2 separate regions of the Homo sapiens genome follow, and region 2 is linked to region 1. The links are contacts of gene promoters, found by promoter capture Hi-C in blood cells and fetal thymus (Javierre and others, 2016). All regions are on one chromosome and are shown on one strand. The core of a region is centred on a gene start or on the middle of the fragment in contact, and the rest is flanking DNA. Distances in the headings are between cores, read along the strand shown. Region 1 holds the start of ADRB2 (adrenoceptor beta 2). Region 2 has its middle 17 kb from the start of JAKMIP2.

Region 1 (6,502 bases), core at 2,379-4,878:
GTAGAAAGAGAATGTGATAATAGCAGTAGAAAGAGAAGGTGATAATGTGTAATAAGGGTTTTCAATAGGTATGAAAACCCTTGGAAAAAAGTAAAAGCACTGAATGACACACATTCTCCAATTTGCCATGGCATGTTCCAAAATCACAGGCGCCTAACCTTCTCCTGATAGCTCGGTGCTCACCCAAACATCCCATCATTGAGTTGACAGGAAGCAGAGAAGGCCAATGCTTTTCTGGTTGGGGACCTTGGCTGCAACAGAAAGGAAGAGGGGAGTGGAGTCAGCTTCATGAGCCAGTGGAATGGCAATGAACCCTGCAGGCTGATCTGCTCTAGCCTGGCGTTGCCAAGGAGGACGATCCACTTCATCAAACCTGGGCCAAGCTCTGGCTCAGACACACAGGCAAAAATAGAAAGGGGCTGGGAGAAGAAATGTGTTTACTTTTGTGATTTCCCCTAACGTGCCTCTTGACAGTATTATAATCTCTTCACAAACAGGAGTCATGGCCCACAGGCCTCACCTCCATTGATAAACCCTCTCAAACAATTCATGTACAGACTTAAAGCCTTCTTAACATTTCATGATCACTATTTGGGCAGCTAGAAAACAAGTTTAGAAGGCAGCATGATGGAATGGAAAGAGTGCTGGTGAGGGTCTGTTACTGCCTAGGTGAACTGTGAAAATCCCTCTCTAAGGCTCTGCACAATCAAGCGCTTGCATTAGAAAGAATGTATGTATCTGCTGAGATTTTTACAGTTTCTACCAGTGACTCTCAACCAGGGGCTAATTCGCACCTCAGGGGCTCTTTTGCAATGTCTGGAAACATTTTTGCTTGTTATAAGCAGGGGGTGCTATTGGCATCTAATGAACAGAGGCCAGAGGTGCTACACATACAATGATGCAGCCCCCATAACAAAGAGTTATCTGGTCCAAAATGCTAACAGTGCTAAGACTCAGAACCTTGGTTTACACTGAATCGAGGAGAGTCAGTGGGAGAAGAAAACAGGGACCAAAGGAAAGAAGGAAAAGGGGTTAAAATTCTGTTTCTAGTTCATGAGGTATCCATCAGTTATGTGTTCTCCAGCTTTTCTCCCCATGACCAATGCCTTTTGAATTTTCCCTCAGAATTACGGGGCCATGTCTGAGTAGCTTCCTCATAAGAACATCTTCCTTATCCCTAAAATGCCAAGCCCTGATGCAGTACAAAGAGCTCCACTGTAACACATGGCCAAGACAGAAATATAAACAGTTTTGAAACAAGTAGAACTGGAAGGTGGGTGGTGGGTGCACGTGGAGAGAAAAAAACATATCCCCTTAACTCCGCTTCTGTGAGTCAGTGTTTCTGAGGTAACAACACAGAACAATAACCATAGGGAGAGTTGAGCTATACTAAGAGCAGGCAGAACTGATTTGGGGCACAAGTGTCAGGAGAGATGCAGCTTTGCAGCAGCAGACTCAAAGGCAAATGAAAGGGTTAAGCAATCTGTGCATGTCATTCTTGTATCATTCTACATTAAGTCATGGGCAGTAATTACAAGTAGTTACCTGCGGTTTCCAGTGGGGGAGGCAACAGCACTCCAGTCAAGGGGTTTTGGAGAAACAGGTGCAATGAAGGCATGGTCAAACAATTTATTTACTGTAAACTTTAGACTTTGCTCGGGAAAACAACTGAAGCTGCTCCTCAAATCCCTGCCTAAAATACCCCGTGTGAGCAAATAAGAGGAGTGGGGGAAGAGTCCATGTTCACAGCTGAAAGGTCCGAGATACTCAAAATCCTCAAGTCCAAGGGTGTAGGAAGGAAAATCTCCTTCAGATACAAATTACCAGCAGCAATATATTACCCCTAATACTTGAATAGTGAGGTAGATACATGGAAAAGTCATGAAAATATAGCAGACTCAGGTCCTCTAGGACTAAAGCTCTTTAGACATAAACTTACAAATTCCATGCAAAGAGGAACTGAACTGTACAAATAACAAATAATCACTCAAATAAGTTTTCTCTCTTTTTACAGCTTAAAAAAATAAAAAAGGCAGAAGGATGCCCTTCCTTCTGCATATCTCTATACAATTTTACAATTTTATTCTAAGTTTATTACCCTCAAGTTAAATAGTCTGTTTAGTGTTCTGTTGGGGGGGGGGGTCTTTAAAAGTAGAAAAACTGCTTTACAGCAGTGAGTCATTTGTACTACAATTCCTCCCTTGTGAATCAATGTTATCGCTAGGCACAGTACCTTGATGGCCCACAAAGTCTTCCGTGCCTGGGAGGTCTTCACACAGCAGTTTATTTTCTTTCTCCTGTTCCACGTGATATCCACTCTGCTCCCCTGTGTTGCCGTTGCTGGAGTAGCCATTCCCATAGGCCTTCAAAGAAGACCTGCGCAGGCACAGAAGCTCCTGGAAGGCAATCCTGAAATCTGGGCTCCGGCAGTAGATAAGGGGATTGAAACCAGAATTGACATAGCCTATCCAATTTAGGAGGATGTAAACTTCCTTACGGATGAGGTTATCCTGGATCACATGCACAATGTTAACGATGAAGAAGGGCAGCCAGCAGAGGGTGAAAGTGCCCATGATGATGCCTAACGTCTTGAGGGCTTTGTGCTCCTTCAAGCAGAACTTGGAAGATCTGCGGAGTCCATGCCCCGTCCGCCCATCCTGCTCCACCTGGCTAAGGTTCTGGACATGGAAGCGGCCCTCAGATTTGTCAATCTTCTGGAGCTGCCTTTTGGCCTCCTGAAAGACCCTGGAGTAGACGAAGACCATGATCACCAGGGGAACGTAGAAGGACACGATGGAAGAGGCAATGGCATAGGCTTGGTTCGTGAAGAAGTCACAGCAGGTCTCATTGGCATAGCAGTTGATGGCTTCCTGGTGGGTGGCCCGGTACCAGTGCATCTGAATGGGCAAGAAGGAGGTAAGGCCTGACACAATCCACACCATCAGAATGATCACCCGGGCCTTATTCTTGGTCAGCAGGCTCTGGTACTTGAAAGGTGAAGTAATGGCAAAGTAGCGATCCACTGCGATCACGCACAGGGTCTCAATGCTGGCCGTGACGCACAGCACATCAATGGAAGTCCAAAACTCGCACCAGAAGTTGCCAAAAGTCCACATTTTCATAAGAATATGGGCGGCCCCAAAGGGCACCACTGCCAGGCCCATGACCAGATCAGCACAGGCCAGTGAAGTGATGAAGTAGTTGGTGACCGTCTGCAGACGCTCGAACTTGGCAATGGCTGTGATGACCAGCACATTGCCAAACACGATGGCCAGGACGATGAGAGACATGACGATGCCCATGCCCACCACCCACACCTCGTCCCTTTCCTGCGTGACGTCGTGGTCCGGCGCATGGCTTCCATTGGGTGCCAGCAAGAAGGCGCTGCCGTTCCCGGGTTGCCCCATGGCGCGCAGTCTGGCAGGTGAGCGCACTGGCTGGGGGCGCCTCAGCGGGCGGACCCACGGCGGGGCTCTGCGGGCCGCGAGCGGACGCCTGGAAGCCTCATTCAGCGGCTGTGGTGTGGGTGTGGTGGGGACTCGTCCTGCACACTCAGCTTGTCGGGTGCTAGGGGCTCGCGGTGCCTGCCAGTTCCAGCCCGTGCTCTGAAGAAGCCGCTTCGCAGTGCGTTCTGCCCGTTATGTGCACAGGACTTTAGGGGAACTGCCCTCGCCGTGACGTACGGGAACTTTCGGCCAATGGCACGCCGGCAGCCGCGAAGGGGCGAGGCACTCCTCCCCTTTCCCTCCCCTCCCCTCGCCCTCCTTCTCCTGGGGCTGGCCCGGGCGGGGCCCAACTGCTCCCTGGAGGGCGGGCCACCACTGCTTCCCGGCTACCCTGGCTGGCCCCAGAGGGCTAAAGCTGGAGGTGGTGTCCTTACCAGCCAACCCGGGAGCTTTTGGCTCTTCTGTGGCCGCTACCTGCCTGCCCTGGGCGCCTGCGCGGCTTGAGGTCTCAAGGCAGAGGGCAGCACACCGGCACTGCCCCACATTCGGAAGGAAACGAGAGTGCCCACCGAGGCACGCACATACAGGCACAAATACACCCTGGCAGACATGCTCAGACTTATACCGAACCACAGCCATAGACACTGAGACACACCCTCCCAGCTCACCGACATGCACACTCGCGCGCGCTCTCACACAGAAGCCATCCGGCACAAAGTCACCCCTGTCCAACACAGAAACGCGGCCAGAAACAAACACAGAAGCACCCAGAAGCACAAAGACATGGTGACACACACAGAAAGTAAACACACGCTGGCTTGGAGGCATCCAGAGCGACACAGACACGGATGTCTCCATCTGGGTACTCCGAACTTGCCTCACCCGAGCACTGATAATGCTCCCCTCCCAACATACACCCGGTAACCCAGTGTATTCCCTTTCAAACATTTGGCAAGAGCACAGGAGGTGACTTCAACAGCTGCTGATTTCCTCAGCACACTCGCTGTCAAGTACTTTAGGTGCCCTCCTTAGGAATTTGCAGGCATGAAGACAGTTTTACCCTTTGGATTTTATCTGGAGCGGGGGTATGCAAGTATGTATTTTGGGACAGAGAGAGAAAGTTGTGTGCTTTTGTTTTAATTTTTTTGTTGTTTTGTTTTTAACTCTTGAGAGTGTGGCATCACTCACTCATTATCTGTTGAACTGGAGATGCAATGAGAATTCAAACAATTTCTTCAGTAAACCCAATGAAACTAAAAAAAATCCTTTCATCTGCTGGATAGTTTGTTAATCTTTCGGGTTGTGCCATGTGAAATTGCCACCATCTGGCGTCTGTGACTTACCAAAATGGCAAATTCATATGGTTCAGAGTATTAAGAATGTCTTAACATTAAGAACATTTTGAAGCTATAGAAAGCAAAAGATCCTGGCCAATATGGTGTAACTCTTGTCTCTACTAAAAATACAAAAATTAGCCAGGTGTGGTGGCACGTACCTGTAGTCCCAGCTACTCGGGAGGCTGAGACAGGAGAATCTCTTGAACCCGGGAGGTGAAGGTTGCAGTGAGCCGAGATCACGTCACTGCGCTCCAGCCTGGGTGACAGAACAAGACTCCATCTCAAAACAAAACAAAACAAAAAACACAAGATAATTCTCCCTTAAGAAAAAGAAAAAAGTAAGACCAAATCTCAAAAGTAAGATCTTTGTTCATGAAATACTATCCTTTCCATCTGGCATGTGACTTTACTGCTAAAGTGAAATTAATTTTCAGGGTTTGATTTCCCATGTATTAGTGGTGTCTTTGAAAAACTGAAAGTATTTCATGAAGTGTAACTAAACGTACTTTGTAGATTACATAATAACATAACAATGGTTAACATTTATGGACCATTCTGCTATTTGCTTTTCATGCATTATTCTATTTAATCCTTCCCACAGTCCCATGGGGGTGGGGACTATTTTTAGCTTAATTCACAAATGAGGTTCAAAGAGGAAAATGGCTTGCCCAGGGGCAATGGCTGGGCAGTGCCAGAATCTGGATTTGACCCAGGTCTGCCTGAGTCCAAGACCCATCTTTTAATCTTTTCAATGTATTGCATAATTACATGCAGACAGGAGTGATGGATAGGGAGGAAGGGCTACAACTGGAACTGGAATACCCAGGTTCCAGATTCACCAAACTTGGAGCTTTCTAGTTCATTTTTTTTTTTTTTAAGAGAAATCACGAAGTACCTGATTTCCATTGTCTCTAAAGGGGCATAAAGTCACTTCCATTGGGGTAAGCAAGAATTGAATGATATAGTAAGAAATATGAAAATGCTTTTGCTCATATAAGTGTCACACAAGTGTAGTTTGTAAGCGAAGTTTACATAAATTACTTAGTGGTTTAGAATATGTTGTTAGTCTTCTCTACTAGAACAATAAAATACTTTAGGGCAAAAGTAAGTTGGGTGTTTACTCTGGAAGCAAAGCTCAGAAACAGAATTTAACCTACATATCCCCTTTAACATCCTTCATAGCAGAAACTGACTTTTTGCAAGACAGATGCCTTAGAAAACAAGTATTTCCCATAAAATCCACAAATATGAATTAAAGATCTATTATATTCACATAGTTTTCAAAATACACTCACCTCATATTTGTGTTTTCCAAAATTGGCTGTGGCATGATGCATTTTAGGAAGAGGCAGTATTTATTATGCAACAACGTTTCTTTAAATATGCATCTACTCAAATTGTGGAACTAAACCATTTAAAACCTCCTTCCTGTTTGTGAAGCTATGGCATAAATAAGCATATTGTTTAACCTTCCTATAATAAGAAAAGAACAAAGAAAACCCCTTTAAGACAAATATTAACTGATCATGTATTTAGATATACACGTAAGTCACTTAAAAGTTTAACTGAATATTTTGGGAAACTCCTTTTTTAAAACCCACAAATACTAAATCAAGAAGGACTGGCTAGCCATATGCAGAAAACTGAAACTGGACCCCTTCCTTACACCTTATACAAGAATTAACTCAAGATGAATTAAAGACTTAAACGTAAGACCTA
Region 2 (6,502 bases), core at 2,595-5,094, 1.0 Mb after region 1:
ATTCACTATCATGAGAATAGCACAGGAAATACTGGCCCCCGTGATTCAATTACCTTCCCCTGAGTCCCTCCCACAACACGTGGGAATTCTGTGAGATACAATTCAATTTGGTTTCGGTGAGGACACAGCCAAACCATATCATTATCTGTGCACATTCCCCTGCCATGGAAAGAATAGAAGTTCCAAAGTCTATAGAACTGCAATTCAAATGTAATTCAATTAACTTGGAATTATCACATATCATTTAGTTATCTGGGAATTTAAGTACCAGGGATAGGTACTTAAATACAAATCTGGGAAGCTCTGAAGGGGATGGTTAGGCAAGTTATTGGTCCAAGCTGAGGGTGAGGGGTCAGAATCCTATCTGAAGATGAAGCTACTGTGTTGACGGATCCTAGAAAAGGAGCACCACTCCCCTTCTTTGCTCTGCTGAATCAGAATCCTCTTAAGGAAAGAAAAAAAAGGTTGAAAAATTAAAGAATGTGGTGGAACTGTGAGATAGTACAAAGAGGGGATGCTAAGTCTGGAGAAGGAAGAAGAATGCCAATGATGCCTTCTCCTCATCCAGAGACTCCCTAACCCTGGCTGTTACTGCTAATGGGTTGTCCTTTGTGACTCCAAAGGCATAGAGTGCCAAGATATTCAACCCTGCAGCAGCCTCCTCTATGGGACTACTGCTGATCATAAGCATAACTCAGCAAAATGTCCCAATCATAGGGGATCCCTGGATGAACTGCTCCTTATGTTCAACAGATAAAATTCTACATACAGTGGAATGGGAGAAAGGGCCACTGCCCATTAAAAAAGAAAGCACAGCCATCAACAGAGGCAAGGATGTGGTACTGGGAACTGATGTCTATTGGCATCTCCTGCTTATACCATAGAATGGTGATATAACAGAGCTTCTCAAGGGCCGGAACAGAGGAACACGTAAGGCATGGGGAAGCAAGCTTAAGCACTGGGGCAAGTCATCTTCAAGGAAGATATTGTTCTCAAAGATATCATTCCTGTGGTACAGTTCTCATTCATTTCACATCTCTATTCCCAACACACTTCCAAAGACTGCCCCAGTGTAACATATGCAGTTACTTCTCTGCGTAAGTCCTGCTTTTCCCTATCGAGTCTTACCACGTAAAGCTACAGTTCTATTGCAAGAGAGGGAAGCACATCTCTACAGATTGTGTCTTTAAGAACTAACATAAGTATTTCACCCATCTGACTAGGAAGGAGGAGGCTTATCAAGTGATAGTTTTATAAATCTAGATAGAATTTTTCTCTCAAACATTCAGAGTCAAAGGCCAGAAGTTACTTACCTGATGTAAAGTACTTTCAATTAAACATACTGGAGACAGACTTGTATCAATGACATTAAGTTATGAATGATAAAAGAGAAATAATTCAACATCTTCTAAGGAACATGTGTGAAATACTCCCTTGGAGTGTCACCAAGCCAGGCTAGGACAGAGAGTTAGGCCTCCAAACCCCTGAGCAGCACTTGCTTTCTTGAGATAGCATTATCTGGGGATCAGTTTCAGGTGGGAGGCAAAAAGTTAAGGAAGAGTTTGCCACTATGGCAGAATTAGTTTAGCAGTGGGAAGGTCTACGTTTTGGTCTCAAGAGAGGAAATTGTGAATTTACCTAGAAAGGGTGAAGTTTTACCCAGCAGATAACTCTGCCCTTTCCTGTAAATTTACCTAGATGGGGTGAAGTTTACCCAGCAGATAACACTGCCCTTTCCACTATGACCCATGTAACCTGGACAGCCCTGTATTGCCCAACACAAAGTTACTCTTAGAACATAGAAGACCTAGGCAGGAAGACCTGGTGGTGTTTATGATGCCCACTGTGGCCTTGACACCAGCTAACCAGAATAAGAGAATTTTAGGGACCACTCCTTTTTCTTTCTTTGAAAAGGAAAACAGAAAATTGAGCATCAATAGAAACATCAGCCTCTGTCCTTCCTGACTTCTGATGTCTACCCTTGGACATCCATGAAATCCCAAGCTGTCTAATTCCCCTTGGAAATGAAAAAGTAGAGAGGGGTATACACTTAAGTTTCTTCGGCATGATGCCTCCACCTTATAGGAACCGGTTAAACATCCCCAGGACAATCATCAGCAATTGCCTTTGGATACGTAAGGATTCCTAGGATCAGTTGCTCCCCCTGAACTTGAAGAGATCAATTTATGTGTAAGAGAATGAAAAGCACATATATAGGGCCATCAAGGACAACATTGGCCAGAAAATGTAAGGTAAGGGCCACAGTAAAACAAAGACGCATTCAGGTAGGATTTCCCGGGCTCACATCATACTCACATCAAGGTCAAGGCTATTTTTAGTGTTCCCTTCCCTTCATCTCAGCTAAGGTCTGTAATTCTCACTGCCAAGTCCCAGGTTCATTTAGGCATGCACTTGATGCCGCTTCTAAATCCTTATCTTTACCTGTTTATCTTGCTGTTTTCTCAGTAGTTGTGGCTGGATGTATCTGCTGTCCCAGGCAGACCAAGTTTAAGACATGTACATTGGTCTCCCAGATCAACTTAATTTAAATGGGTATGTCCTCCTTGCTACACACAAGAGGATTTTGAATTGATAATCGAGGAAAACTGGAGTCACTTCTCCTAGGATAGAACTCTGCATTTATTTGCTCAAAGCAACTGGTAAAGAATGATGGATGAGCCAAGGTTTTCATTTCACCATATGGAATCAAAGGAGTTTGCATTCCTTGTTGCTATGTCTCTCAGTCTGTAGTCAACGGAAAATATATTTCATTAGAACAAGAGGGAGCTATTTAAGTTACCTCTTTTATGTTACTATTTATGTTAGATCATAAATCAATCTAGTCTTTGATATAAAATCTAGTATTTCTAAAGCCATTACGTAAATACAAAATTACCAATTTTCAGTGCTTAAACCAGGGATGATGCATCTATACTAAAGCATATGAGAATTTTCTTTTTGTCAAAAATACTGGTTCTCAGGCCTTTGAGATTACTTTAAATATCAATGGGAGACTTTGACTAAAAGGCTTCTTTTTAAAGATTTGCATAATGTTGTCTGGATGGTATTGCAGAACCTGGATCCTGCAATCTGCCCCTACCTTTAACTTGTTCCCACCGTGTTTGCTTGCCTTGACCTACTGGTTAGTCCTGCTCTCCCTGCCATTTTCACTGGGATTTTTCTTCCTATGTGCTTATTTGTAGGAAACTCTTCTCCATTTCAGACAACATATTCTAAATGCTCTTTACTGCACTATACTTGAAGAATGCTCCTTTTAGCATGGACTGGTCTAAAAATTATATCAGTGCCAATGCAGTAAGATTTATAAGAGGATGGAAAATGCAGAGTTTGGCTCTTTTTAAATTCTTTTATGTAAGTAGGCTCTACAAGACATTTGAACTATACTTTACTGAAAATAATTACATCAAAATTTGGTCAACAATGCAAATTGTTGCTGGACCAGGGCCAGGGCTAAGATGATACCCCAGGCATTCAAAAACTCAGCTGAGTACTCCTGTCACATATGAACCATGAAGAAGGACCTGCAGAGTCAAAGGGAGAAAACATACATCTCATCTCCTATCTCTTCTAGTGTCTGCTTTACTTATTTACTCTTAACTGTGTGCATTTTCTTTATTCAGTCATTTATTGGTTGGCTTTATCCTCTTGGGGGAGTTAACCAATTACAGAAACAAAACTTTTATTTTATCTGATTAGAATCAGATTATGCATTTTGGTAGAAATACCTCAGAAGTGATGCTGTGTCCTTTTGAGTGCATGATGTTAAGGAGACACAGGGCCAGGCGTGGTGGCTCACGCCTGTAATCTCAGCACTTTGGGAGGCTGAGGCAGGCAGATCACCTGAGGTCGGGAGTTCAAGGCCATCCGGGCCAACATGGGGAGACCCCGTCTTTACTAAAAATACAAAAATTAGCCTAGTGTGGTGGCATGCACCTGTAGTCCCAGCTACTCAGGAGGCTAAGGCAGGAAAATCACTTATCACTTGAACCCAGGAGGCAGAGATTGCAGTGAGCCAAGTTCATGCCACTGCACTCCAGCCTGGGCGACAGAGTTAGATTCTGTCAAAACAAACAAACAAACAAACAAACAAAAACAAAAAAACAAAGAGAGAGAGATATATAGGATGTCTGTTCATTCTACTCTTGGTGATGTTAACTTTGATCACTTGATTAGAGAGATACAGTAGCCCCCTCTATCCCCTAATCTGGGGGATATGTTCCAACAGCCTCAGTGGATGCCTAATGCTGCAGAAAGTACTGAACCCTATATATGGGCATACTTTAGTGAAGTTACAGGTTTGGTCCAGACCACAATAAAGTGAATATCAGAATAAAGCAAGTCACAGGAATTTTTTTTGTTTCCCAGTGCGTATAAAAGTTATGTTTACATTGTACTGCAGTCTATTAAGTGTGCAATAGCATTATGCCTTAAAAAAACAATGCGCATAGCTTAATTTAAAATATTTTGTTGCTAAAAAATGCTAATGATCATCTGAGCATTCAGGAAGTCATAATTGTTTGCTTGCCTCGATACTGATGCTGCTGACTGACCAGGGTGGGAGTTGTTGAAGGCTGGAGTGGTGTGGCAATATTTTAAAGTAAGACAACAGTGGAGTCTGCCACAACAATCGACTCTTCCTTTTATGAAAGATTTCTTTATAGCCACCAATGTTGTTTGAAAGCATTTTACTCACAATGGAACTTCTTTCAAAATTGTAGCCAATCCTCTCAAACCCTGCCACTGCTTTATCAACTAAATTGATGTAATACTATAAATGCCTTGCTGCTATTTCAACAAGGTTCACAGCATCTTCACCAGGGGTAGTTTTCATTTCAAGAAACCACTTTTCTTTGGTCATCGATAAGATGCAACTCCTCGTCCTCATCTGTGAAAGTTGTATCATGAGATAGCAGGAATACAGGCACATCTTCAGAGTCTACTTCTAATTCCAGTGCTCTTGCTATTTCCACCATAACTGCAGTTATTTCCTCCATTGAAGTCTTGAATCCTCAAAATCATTCATAAGGGTAGAATCAAGTTCTTCAAAACTCCTACTAATGTTGATCTTTTGACTTCCTTCCATGAATGTCGAATGATCTTCATGGCATCCAGAATAATGAATCCTTTCCAGGAGACTTTCACTTTACACAGATCCTTCCCAAGAATCACTATCTATGATAGCTATAGCCTTGTGAAATGAATTAAATAATAAGACTTGAAAGTCAAAATGACTCCCTGAACCATAGGTTGAAAATGAACATTATGTTAACAATCATGAAAAACAACGTTAATCTCCTTGTACATCTTCATCAGAGCTCTTGGGTAACTGGGTACCTTATTAGTGAGTAGAAATATTTTGAAAGGGATCACTTTTTTGAGCAGTAATTCTCAATATTGGGTTTAAAATATTCAATAAACCATGCTGTAGACAGAAGTGCTGTCATTCAGGCTTTGTTGTTTCATTTGCAGAGCATAGGCAGAGTAGATTTGGCATCATTCTTTAAGTGCTCCAGCATTTTCAGAGTGGTAAATGAACCCTGGCTTCAATTTCAGGTCACAGCTGCTGTCCCCTAACAAGTCAGTTTGTCCTCTGAAGCTCGGAAGCCAGGCACTGACTTTTCCTCTTTAGGATGTTCTAGATGGTAACGTCTTCTAATAGAAGGCTCTTTTGTCTGCAATGAAAATCTGTAGTATAATATGGCCACCTTCATCAATGATCTTAGCTAGTTAGATCTTCTGAGTGGTTTCCTGCAGCTTCTACATAAGCCCTTGCTGTTTCACTTTGCACTTTTCTGTTATGGAGATGGCTTCTTTCCTTAAACCTCATGAACTAACTTCTGCTAGCTTCCAACTTTTCTTCTGTAGCTTTCTCACCTCTTTCAGCCTTGTAGAATTGAAGACAGTTAGGGCCTTACTCTAGATTAGGCTTTGGCTTAAGGGAATATTGTGGCTGGTTTTATCTTCTATCCAGACCACTCAAACTTTCTTCATAATAACATAACAGTAATAAGGCTGTTTCACTTTCTTATCATTTGAATTTTCCTCAAGCACTTTTCCTTTGAATTCACAACTTGGCTAACTGTTTGGCATAAGAGAACTAGCTTTAAGTCTATCTTGGCTTTTGACATGCCTTGCTCACTACGTTTAATCGCTTAAGTAGAACAAGTTACTTGAACACAAAGACTGCAATACCGTCACAGTTGATCTAATAACTGAGAGAGCTACTACGTTACTAACAGGCAGGTAGTGTATACAGCGTGAACATGCTGGACAAAGGGATGATTCATGTCTCAGGTGGAACAGAGTAGGAACATGAGAGATTTCATCATCGCACTCAGAATGGTGCACAATTTAAAACTTAGGAATTATTTATTTCTGTAATTTCTAACTTGATATTTTTAAACTGCAATTGATTGCAAGTAATAGAAACTGTGTGAAGCAAAACTAAGGATAAGGGGGAATTCTGGTACCAACTAGGTTT

The links. Contacts are between HindIII fragments. The CHiCAGO score rates a contact against its expected background, and 5 or more counts as called.
Region 2: a fragment that was not itself captured here is called in contact with the fragment with the promoter of ADRB2 in region 1 in 1 of 17 cell types (monocytes); the score reaches 5.6 in monocytes.

Annotation. Positions count from the first base shown.
Region 1 is chr5:148,823,737-148,830,238 of GRCh38, reverse strand. It overlaps ADRB2 (adrenoceptor beta 2), which reads right to left and starts at 3,628. Exons shown (of 1, transcript NM_000024.6): 1 at 1,616-3,628. The coding sequence starts at 3,407. The coding sequence ends at 2,166. RefSeq lists enhancers at 2,728-3,313, 4,170-4,329 and silencers at 3,360-3,499, 3,590-3,899. The HindIII fragment of the contact is 9,818 bases long and covers 1-6,502 here.
Region 2 is chr5:147,796,880-147,803,381 of GRCh38, reverse strand. No RefSeq gene overlaps it. Among named protein-coding and RNA genes, the nearest start is that of JAKMIP2, 17 kb to the right of the region's middle. The HindIII fragment of the contact is 5,784 bases long and covers 953-6,502 here.